3 separate regions of the Homo sapiens genome follow, and regions 1 and 3 are each linked to region 2. The links are contacts of gene promoters, found by promoter capture Hi-C in blood cells and fetal thymus (Javierre and others, 2016). All regions are on one chromosome and are shown on one strand. Each heading gives the region's core, a stretch centred on a gene start or on the middle of the fragment in contact. The rest is flanking DNA. Distances are from core to core; before and after follow the strand shown.

The links. The method cuts DNA at HindIII sites, captures the fragments that hold promoters and counts their contacts. A CHiCAGO score of 5 or more calls a contact.
Region 1: a fragment that was not itself captured here is called in contact with the fragment with the promoter of RASSF9 in region 2 in 2 of 17 cell types (erythroblasts and megakaryocytes); the score reaches 6.2 in erythroblasts.
Region 3: a contact is called between a fragment that was not itself captured here and the fragment with the promoter of RASSF9 in region 2, in 1 of 17 cell types (erythroblasts). The highest score is 5.1, in erythroblasts.

Annotation. Positions count from the first base shown.
Region 1 is chr12:85,491,725-85,494,455 of GRCh38, forward strand. No RefSeq gene overlaps it. Among named protein-coding and RNA genes, the nearest start is that of LINC02820, 180 kb to the left of the region's middle. The HindIII fragment of the contact is 6,875 bases long and covers 1-2,731 here.
Region 2 is chr12:85,835,023-85,837,722 of GRCh38, forward strand. RASSF9 (Ras association domain family member 9) reads right to left here and starts at 1,387. Exons shown (of 2, transcript NM_005447.4): 1 at 1,133-1,387. The coding sequence starts at 1,179. The HindIII fragment of the contact is 4,697 bases long and covers 1,277-2,700 here.
Region 3 is chr12:85,543,588-85,546,287 of GRCh38, forward strand. No RefSeq gene overlaps it. Among named protein-coding and RNA genes, the nearest start is that of LINC02820, 230 kb to the left of the region's middle. The HindIII fragment of the contact is 717 bases long and covers 1,001-1,717 here.

The DNA of each region.
Region 1 (2,731 bases), core at 191-2,690, 340 kb before region 2:
GGTGCTGCTAGCTTTGTTCTTTTTTCTCAAGATTGCTTTGGCGATTCAGAGTCTTTTGTGGTTCCATATAAGTTTTAGGATTTTTTTTACTATTTTTGTGAAAAATGCCTCTGCTATTTTGATGGAAATTGCACTGAATCTGTAGATTGCTTTGGGCAATATAGACATTTTAACAATATTAGTTCTACTCCATTAACATGGATGACTATTTCATTTATTTGTGTCATTTTCAATTTCTTTCATAAATGCTGTATAGTTTTCAATGTAGATATTTTTCACCTGCTTGGTTAACTTTATTACTAAGTTTTTGTGTTTTTTTGTAGCTACTGATAGTTTGCTGTTAATACACAGAAACACTATAGATTTTTGAATGTTAATTTTGTATTTTACATCTTTATTGAATTTATTAGTTCTAACAATTTTGTTTTCAGTGGAGTTTTATATTTAAGGTGGTATAAATGTAAGACAGTGTCATTTGCCAATAGGAATAATTTAGCTTCTTCCTTTCCATTTTGGATGCCTTTTATTTCTTTCTCTTGCCTAAATGCTCTGGCGAAGACTTCCAAAACTATGTTGAATAGAAATGGTAAGAGTGAGCATCCTTGTCTTGTTCCAGATTTTAGATGAGATCTTTCCATTTTTTTCCAATTGACTATGAATGTTAGCTGTGGTTTTGCCATACATGGTCTTTATTATGTTGAGATACATTACTTCAAAACATAATTTGTTGAGTTTTTATCATGAAAGGATGTTGAATTTTGTCAAATGCTTCTGTGTATCTGTTGAACTGATCATATGGTGGTTTTTGCCCTTCATTCTCTTAATATGATGTATCATGATTTTTGATTTGGGTATGTTGAGCCTTCCTTGGATCCCTGGGATGAATCTCACTTGATCTTGGTGAATAATCTTTTTTAATGTGCTATCGAATTCAGTTTTTTAGCATTTCTTTGAGGATTTTTGCATTTATATTCAGCAAGGATAGTGAATTATCATTTTATTTTTGCTATATCTTTGTCTGATTTTGATATTATGGTAATTATGGCCTTATAAAGTAGGTTTTCAAGTATTCCTTTCTCTTCAGTTTTTTGGAAGAGTTAAGTCATCAGTTTCTGTAGGCAGCACATAGTTGGTTTTGATTGTCTATCCATTCAGCCATTATATATCTTTTGATAGGAGAATTTACATCATTTAAATTCAAGGTTATGACTGATAGGTTAGGACTTCTGACTGTAATTTTGTTAATTGTTTTCTATTTGCTTTGTAGATCTGTTGTTTTTTTCTTTTTTTCTTTCTGTTTGTCTCTATTTGTGGTTAAATGATTTTTCTTTTGTGGTATGTTTTAATTTCTTGTGTTTCATTTATTTTTTAAATCTACCATAGATTTTGCTTTGTAGTTACTATGATGCTTACAATAAACATCTTATAGTTAAAATAGATTATTTTAAGCTGATAATAACTTAACTTTGATTGCCAACAAACACCCACAATGAAAATCTCTATGCATTTCCTCAGCTGTCCACCTAACATTTAAAATTTTTAATGTTACCATTGTAATCTTTCTATATTGTATATCTCTTAACAAATTACTGTAGTTATTATTTTTAGTTTTGTCTTTTAATATCATTTATGTTAAAGTTATAAGTGATTTACACACTACCATTTACAGTATTAGAGTATTCTAAATTGGACTATGTACTTACTTTTACTAATTAGTTTTATACTTTCAGATATTTTTGTCTTACTCATTAGTAAGTAAGCTATTTCTTCAGCTTGAAGAACTTTGTTTGGCATTTATTATAGGACAAGTCTGGTGGTGATAAAATCCCTCAGCTTTTGTTTATCTGATTTATCTCTTCTTCATTTCTTTTTTTCCCTTTCTTTTTTTTTTTTTCTTTTTTTTTGAGACAGAGTGGCTCTGTTGCTCAGGCTGGAGTCCTGTGATGATGTCATGGCTCATTGCAGCCTCTGCCTTCTGGGCTTAAGCAATCCTCCCATCTCGGTCTCCCAAATAGCTGGGACTACAGACATATACCACCATGCCTGGCTAATCTTTTATTTTACTTTATTTTTTATAGAGATGAGGTTTCTCCATGTCATCCAGGCTTGTCTCAAACTCTTGGACTCAGGTAATCTATCTCAGCCTCTGAAATTGCTGGGATTAAAGGCATGAGCCACCATGCCCTGCCTCTTCTTCATTTCTCAAGCACAGTTTTGCTGGGTACGATATGCTTGGTTGGTAGTTCTCTTCTTTTTTTTTTAACTTTTAAGTTCAGGGGTACAAGTGCAGGTTTGTTACATAGATAAACTCATGCCATGGGGATTTGTTGTACAGATTATTTCATCACCCAGGTATTAAGCCTAGTGCCCATTAGTTATTTTTCCTGATATTCTACCTCCTCCCATCCGCCACCCTCCAAAAGGCCCCAGTGTGTGTTGTTCCCCTCTATGTGTCCATGTATTCTCATCACTTAGCTTCCACTTATAGGTGAGAATATGCAGTATTTGGTTTTCTGTTCCTGTGTTCATTTGCTAAGGATAATGGCTTCAGCTTCATCCATGTCCCTGCAAAGGACATGTTCTCATTCTTTGAGCACTTTTAATATTTTATCCCACTCTTTTCTGGCCTGTAATGTTTCTTCTGAGAGTCTGATGCTAGGTGTATTAAAACTCTCTTATATGTTATTTGCTTCTTTTCTTGGGCTCCCTTCAGAATTTCCTTTTTGTTTTT
Region 2 (2,700 bases), core at 137-2,636:
TTGTCACCTAAATCATGAATACATTTGGAATGAGTTAAAAACAGGATTTTCAAAGTAGACATGTGTGCGCAAAATAAAGTATGGAGATTTACTTTAAAGTTGTATTACTCTATATTGTCATGTAGACACTTTAAAATAATTATATCATTTCCTACCATGTAATTGTATCCTTTTGAATCTGCACTGAGCAAATTATGACAAGTACAAACAGGCATGATTGAGAGAAAAGTGGTGGACAATCCCCTATGCCAAAATAAATATATTTTTAAAAAAATATAGCCCATGTCTAAATTTATTCTCAAGTTTTTGGCATGAAAACGTAACATTTGATGTGTAAATAAAATATTTAATAAGACTAAGACAGACATACTGTCCCTAGAAAAATACGTGTGTGTATGTGTGTTTTGAGTAACTTATTTATACTATGGGCATTTCAAGCTTGAAATATCAAATCAAATCAAAGTAAAACAGTAATAATAAGGATTAGAGAGGATAGCTGCTTGAATCCTTCTTTAGTGCTTAAAACTACCTAAAATTCTCAAAGATTTTTTAAAGAATCAATTCAAACAAAGTTTCTCTCCAGAGTGTTTCCACTTTGGGAACATTCCAGGTTTCAGGAATGCCTCACTCTCAGGGGAGCCAAAGCATTGTTTCTGAATTGTATCAGCAGTTTTATTTTTCATCCTACTTAGTGGCTATAAATACTAGTTACATCTTTATCAAAGTTTTAATTATTTCTACAATATTCTAAAGTTCTGTTGAAACAAAATGACACTTTTTATTGTACTACCCTCAAATGCCCAGGGCAACAAAAAAAGAAACTGTTTATGTTGCTAGTTGTGGAAACAGGACTGGTCAAAAGGGGAGAAAGGAGTCAAATATAATCACTCTTTATTCTCTGCGATCCTTGAGCTGGTCACTCCCATCATCAATACTGGGAGAATATCCTTACTATCTAGGTATTCATACTAGCCTAACTCCTTAGGCTAGGACTGTGTCCCCACGAAGCCTTTTTTTATCAGAATCTAACAACCACAAAACACATACTTTCACAGGTAGGGTCCAGAGTACACACACAAGACACACACACACACAGAGACACACACACACTTACTCACACGCTTGACTTTACCTGTTTTTATGCCGAGTCTTTAGCAAGTTTCTTCCAAAGGGAGCCATGGTCTGTCGGGCAAACGAATAAAGAAATTATCTTAAAGTGATCTGAGGGTGGGGGTGGGGGTGTCTGGATTTCCAGGGTGAAGGGAGGAGGGCTGGAAGCTTTCTCTTCTCCTCGGATGTTCCTGGCTTTCAGCTCATTAGTAGCCGGCTGAGAAAGTTGCTGGAAGTTGTGCAACTGCTGCTTAACTTTGAACTGCGGGATTGTTGTGGCTGCTGCACCTCTGGAGACCTGCCCAGCTTCAGCCTCGAAGAAGGCGTTTGGAAGCAGGAAAAGAAAAAAAAAAAAGAAAGAGAGAGAGAGGAAGGGAGGAGGACTCTATTGTGTTCTGTAGTTATTTGCAGACTTAAAGAACTGCCAACCCCACAAGCATGGTAATACCAATGGAACGGGAGTTTCACTCGATCTGGAAATCCCCCCTCCCCCGCTTTCCACACCCAACCACACAAGGTGTACTGAACACACATAAAAGGATTAAAAGTAAATATCCCCCAACTCCTGGTCAGCTCCAGTCTGTGAAAAGTCATCTGATCATGGCAAGCATGAGGGATTGCTGAGAACTCTCTTTGCCAACTCATTCGACCCCAGATCCCCTGCCAGGGTGTCAGGACTTTAAAATATATTAGGGAGAGGGAAGCTGGAAACCGGATCAAGGTGGACTCACAGACCACTTAGAATTGTTAAGTCCCTGAGTTCACGGTCTTAAGAGTTTCTTCCAGGCCCCTGCTCCACACTCTCAAGTTCATCTTGCAAAAGTCGAAGGACCTGAAGGACCACAGGGCTCCAGGGCTGATGCATCACAGTTTGGTCTAGGAACCAGCTGGAGTTTAGTGTTTGACTCCCAAGGCGTTTATGTTGACCCCTACCCCATCTTTGACATTCACTGGGCCTTTAGAGCCCTGGGAATTTCAGAGGAAAAGCAAACTGCTCCTGCCCCTCAAGGAGTAAAGAAGACACACCGAGGGGATCTGCTGGAGCTCGAAATGTGAAGTGGAAGTCTAAGGGAGGGAGGGCTTCATCTGGTCCCAGGAGAGCTCGAATCCAGAAGCAGGGCAGAGGAATGGAGATGGGAGAGTTCGGGTGCCTGTGGGAGGCCCAGCGCAGCTCCCACCAGGTACCTGGCACTCATGGGAAAGCACTATTTAGGGGCAAGGGCCAGGAGAGCTTTCTCATGGACGTGTTTTACTGGGATTTTGCCCCTCCTAAAACCACCCCACCACCCTCCACCCCGCCAGGCTTCTAATCATGGGCTTCCCAGGCAGACGATGAGGGAGGGAGGGAAAGGAAAGCCAACAAACTTGTGAGTTCTTTCTGAGCCTTGGCAAAGAATATGAATCGCTCCTACTTACTTTGGGAGTTTATCCCCTACCCCCAACAACACCAAACAAAAAAATAATCTCAAGGTCTTCCATGATTCTGATACACACTGATTTATGCAGTGCTCAGATAAATCATGTTTTTCATTATTTATTATCATAATCTTTCTCTATTCATCTATATTTCATGTTTCTGTATGTGCATAT
Region 3 (2,700 bases), core at 109-2,608, 290 kb before region 2:
TCCAATATGACTGCTAAAACCTGTTATATGTGTTTAATTCTCAAGAGATCTCAATACTTACAGATTGATTTTATTCTTTGAAATACCATTCAAAGTTACATTTTTTCAATGACAAATGCCCAATAGTGTTCATCTATATGATGTTTATTTATTGCTTCTTTTTATAAAAGATGCTAAAATATAAAAAAAACCTAAAGATGAAATACAGAAATATTTTAAAAGTGTATTGTTTTTAGCTATAGGGCCAATATTACAAGTGAGACAAAGATAGATGAACAGTAAGATGCCTATTTTTATTATTTTCTTTTTGGAAGTTGGATTATGGAAGAACAGTTTCATTCCTCTTGAAGCACCACAATCCATGTAACCAAAAACAGATGAGGTCTTCCTCCCTAGAAAATTTGAACTGATCCTTCATGGCATGTACCTCTACTTCACAGAGAGCTATAAAATTTATTCTGGCGGATACAAAGAATTTTAGTTATTTAATTATTGTAAACATTTATTAAGCATCTACTATATCGTAGATATTGTGGTAGGCATTGATATTCAAAAGGAAATTAAGCATTGTCTCTGACGTTGAAGAGTTCATTTCAAAAGAAAGATATATACAGATATACAGATGGGCCCCACTTAGGATGGTTCAACTTACAATTTTTCAACTTTATGATAGGTTTAACAGTTTATAACCCCGTTATAGCTTGAGGAGTATTTCTAATACATATTTACCTTATGATATGGTTTCGCTGTGTCCCCACCCAAATCTCATCTTGAATTGTAGCTCCCATAATCCCATGTGTCATGGGAGGGACTTGGTAGGAGGTAATTTAATCATAGGGGTGGTTACCCTCATGCTGTTCTCATGATAGTGAGTGAGTTCTCATGAAATCTGATGGTTTTATATGAGGCTTTTCCCTTTTGCTTGGCACTTCTCCTTGATGCTGCTATATGAAGAATGCTGTGTTTGCTTTCCCTTCCCTCATGATTGAAGGTTTCCTGAAGCTTCCTCAGCCATGCTGAATTGTGAGCCAATAAAATCTTTTCATTTACAAATTACCCAGTCTCGGGTATGTCTTTATTAGCAGCATGAGAACAGACTAGTACGCCACACAATGTAATAAGTGCTTAAACAGTGGCATATGTGAAAATAATTCTGTTGGACTATAAAGAAGAATAATATTCTGCCTGGTGGTCATGTGAGAGATATCATATGGAAACAGAGATCAAATAATGTCATTGCTGGAAGCGTGCTCTGAGCCAAGGAATGTGGGCAACTTCTAAAGCCTGGCAAGGGCAGGGAATTAATACTCTCTTAGAGCTTCCAGAAGGAACCAGACCTGCCAACAGCCTGACTTTAACCCAATAAGAGAGAGAATAAATTTGTGTTGTTTGAAACCACTGCATTTGTAGTGATTTGTTGCAGCAATAGGAAATGAATACAATGACCATAGGTGGTGGAATAGCTTTACCGAGTTGTGTTTATGCATCTCCTGGGATGTGAGCCACATGTAGTTTAAAAATGTATTCAAGTCATTGTCATATTCTCTCTTAAAAATGCCCCCTGCTACCTTCTCCTCCTCCTTCAATTCTTATGGGAATCATTGAGGTAAATCATTCTGAGTAAAAACAAGATTACCTTGAAACAGAAATATAGAGTATGAGCCCCAAGCATAATAATTTACTTATTCTTTGGTTGCCTTAGGTTTTGAGTAAGATAAGCTTAGGAGCATTTTTCTCGGAACTACTAGGGCTTGAAACTACCTTTGTCCCCACCCTAGCAAATACCATTCTATAACAGGATTTCCTTTGACCATTAGAGAAAATAATCTAAATTAGTTGAAACTTATAGACTTTGAACCTAAAGCTGGATGATGTAGTAGGGTTTAGTTTTTTTGGTATCCATGCTATATTTGAAATGTAGACGTATGATTTGTGGATTATTTTGTGCATGGGAACCCCAACACCTGAATTCGGGATCACTCTGAGGAGAGCTGCAACTGTAAATATATAGGCTCTCATGGTCATCTCTCCAGGACAGTCAGAGGCATTAGAAGTGTATTCTATCTCTTTATTGGGCCAAGACAATCTTTTTTAAAATCCAAAACTCTTTTCCAGCTCCACCTCTCAAACAACAACAAAATAATTCCCTTAATCACATAAATTTAGAATCCAGAATGATTTGTTTTTGAAGCCATAACTATCTAAATCTTGGCAAACCATATGTTGCAGTATAGTTACCTGCCTTGATGAGTTTATTTGAAACTTCGAGCTCCAAAAATACTTATATATGCACCCTGAAGACAAATTATTTAACTAAATATTTGGTCTGTTATTATTGTTAAAAGAGGGACAAGGCCAGGCTCATGAAATTCCATCAATCTGTGAAGGAAAAACAACCTTCCAAAAAGTTCAATTCCATAAGTAGAAGAACTATTCTTGCTATTAATAAATTCTCAGAGTGATAAAAAAATTTTATCCAGTTTTAAAAAAATTTCCAGTTTTAAAACTGGAAAAAATAAAGACCTAGACATTTTTCATTTAAAACAAATAGCTATAAAACCTTTATAAACAGAAAGAAACCAAAGATGCAAATAATAATGATTTCAAAAAAGTCAATGATAACAGCAGGAGAGAAAAAGTAACTTTATTTTTACAGGATTTTTCACCAACCAAACTCAGCATGAAGAAAGATTGTCAGCA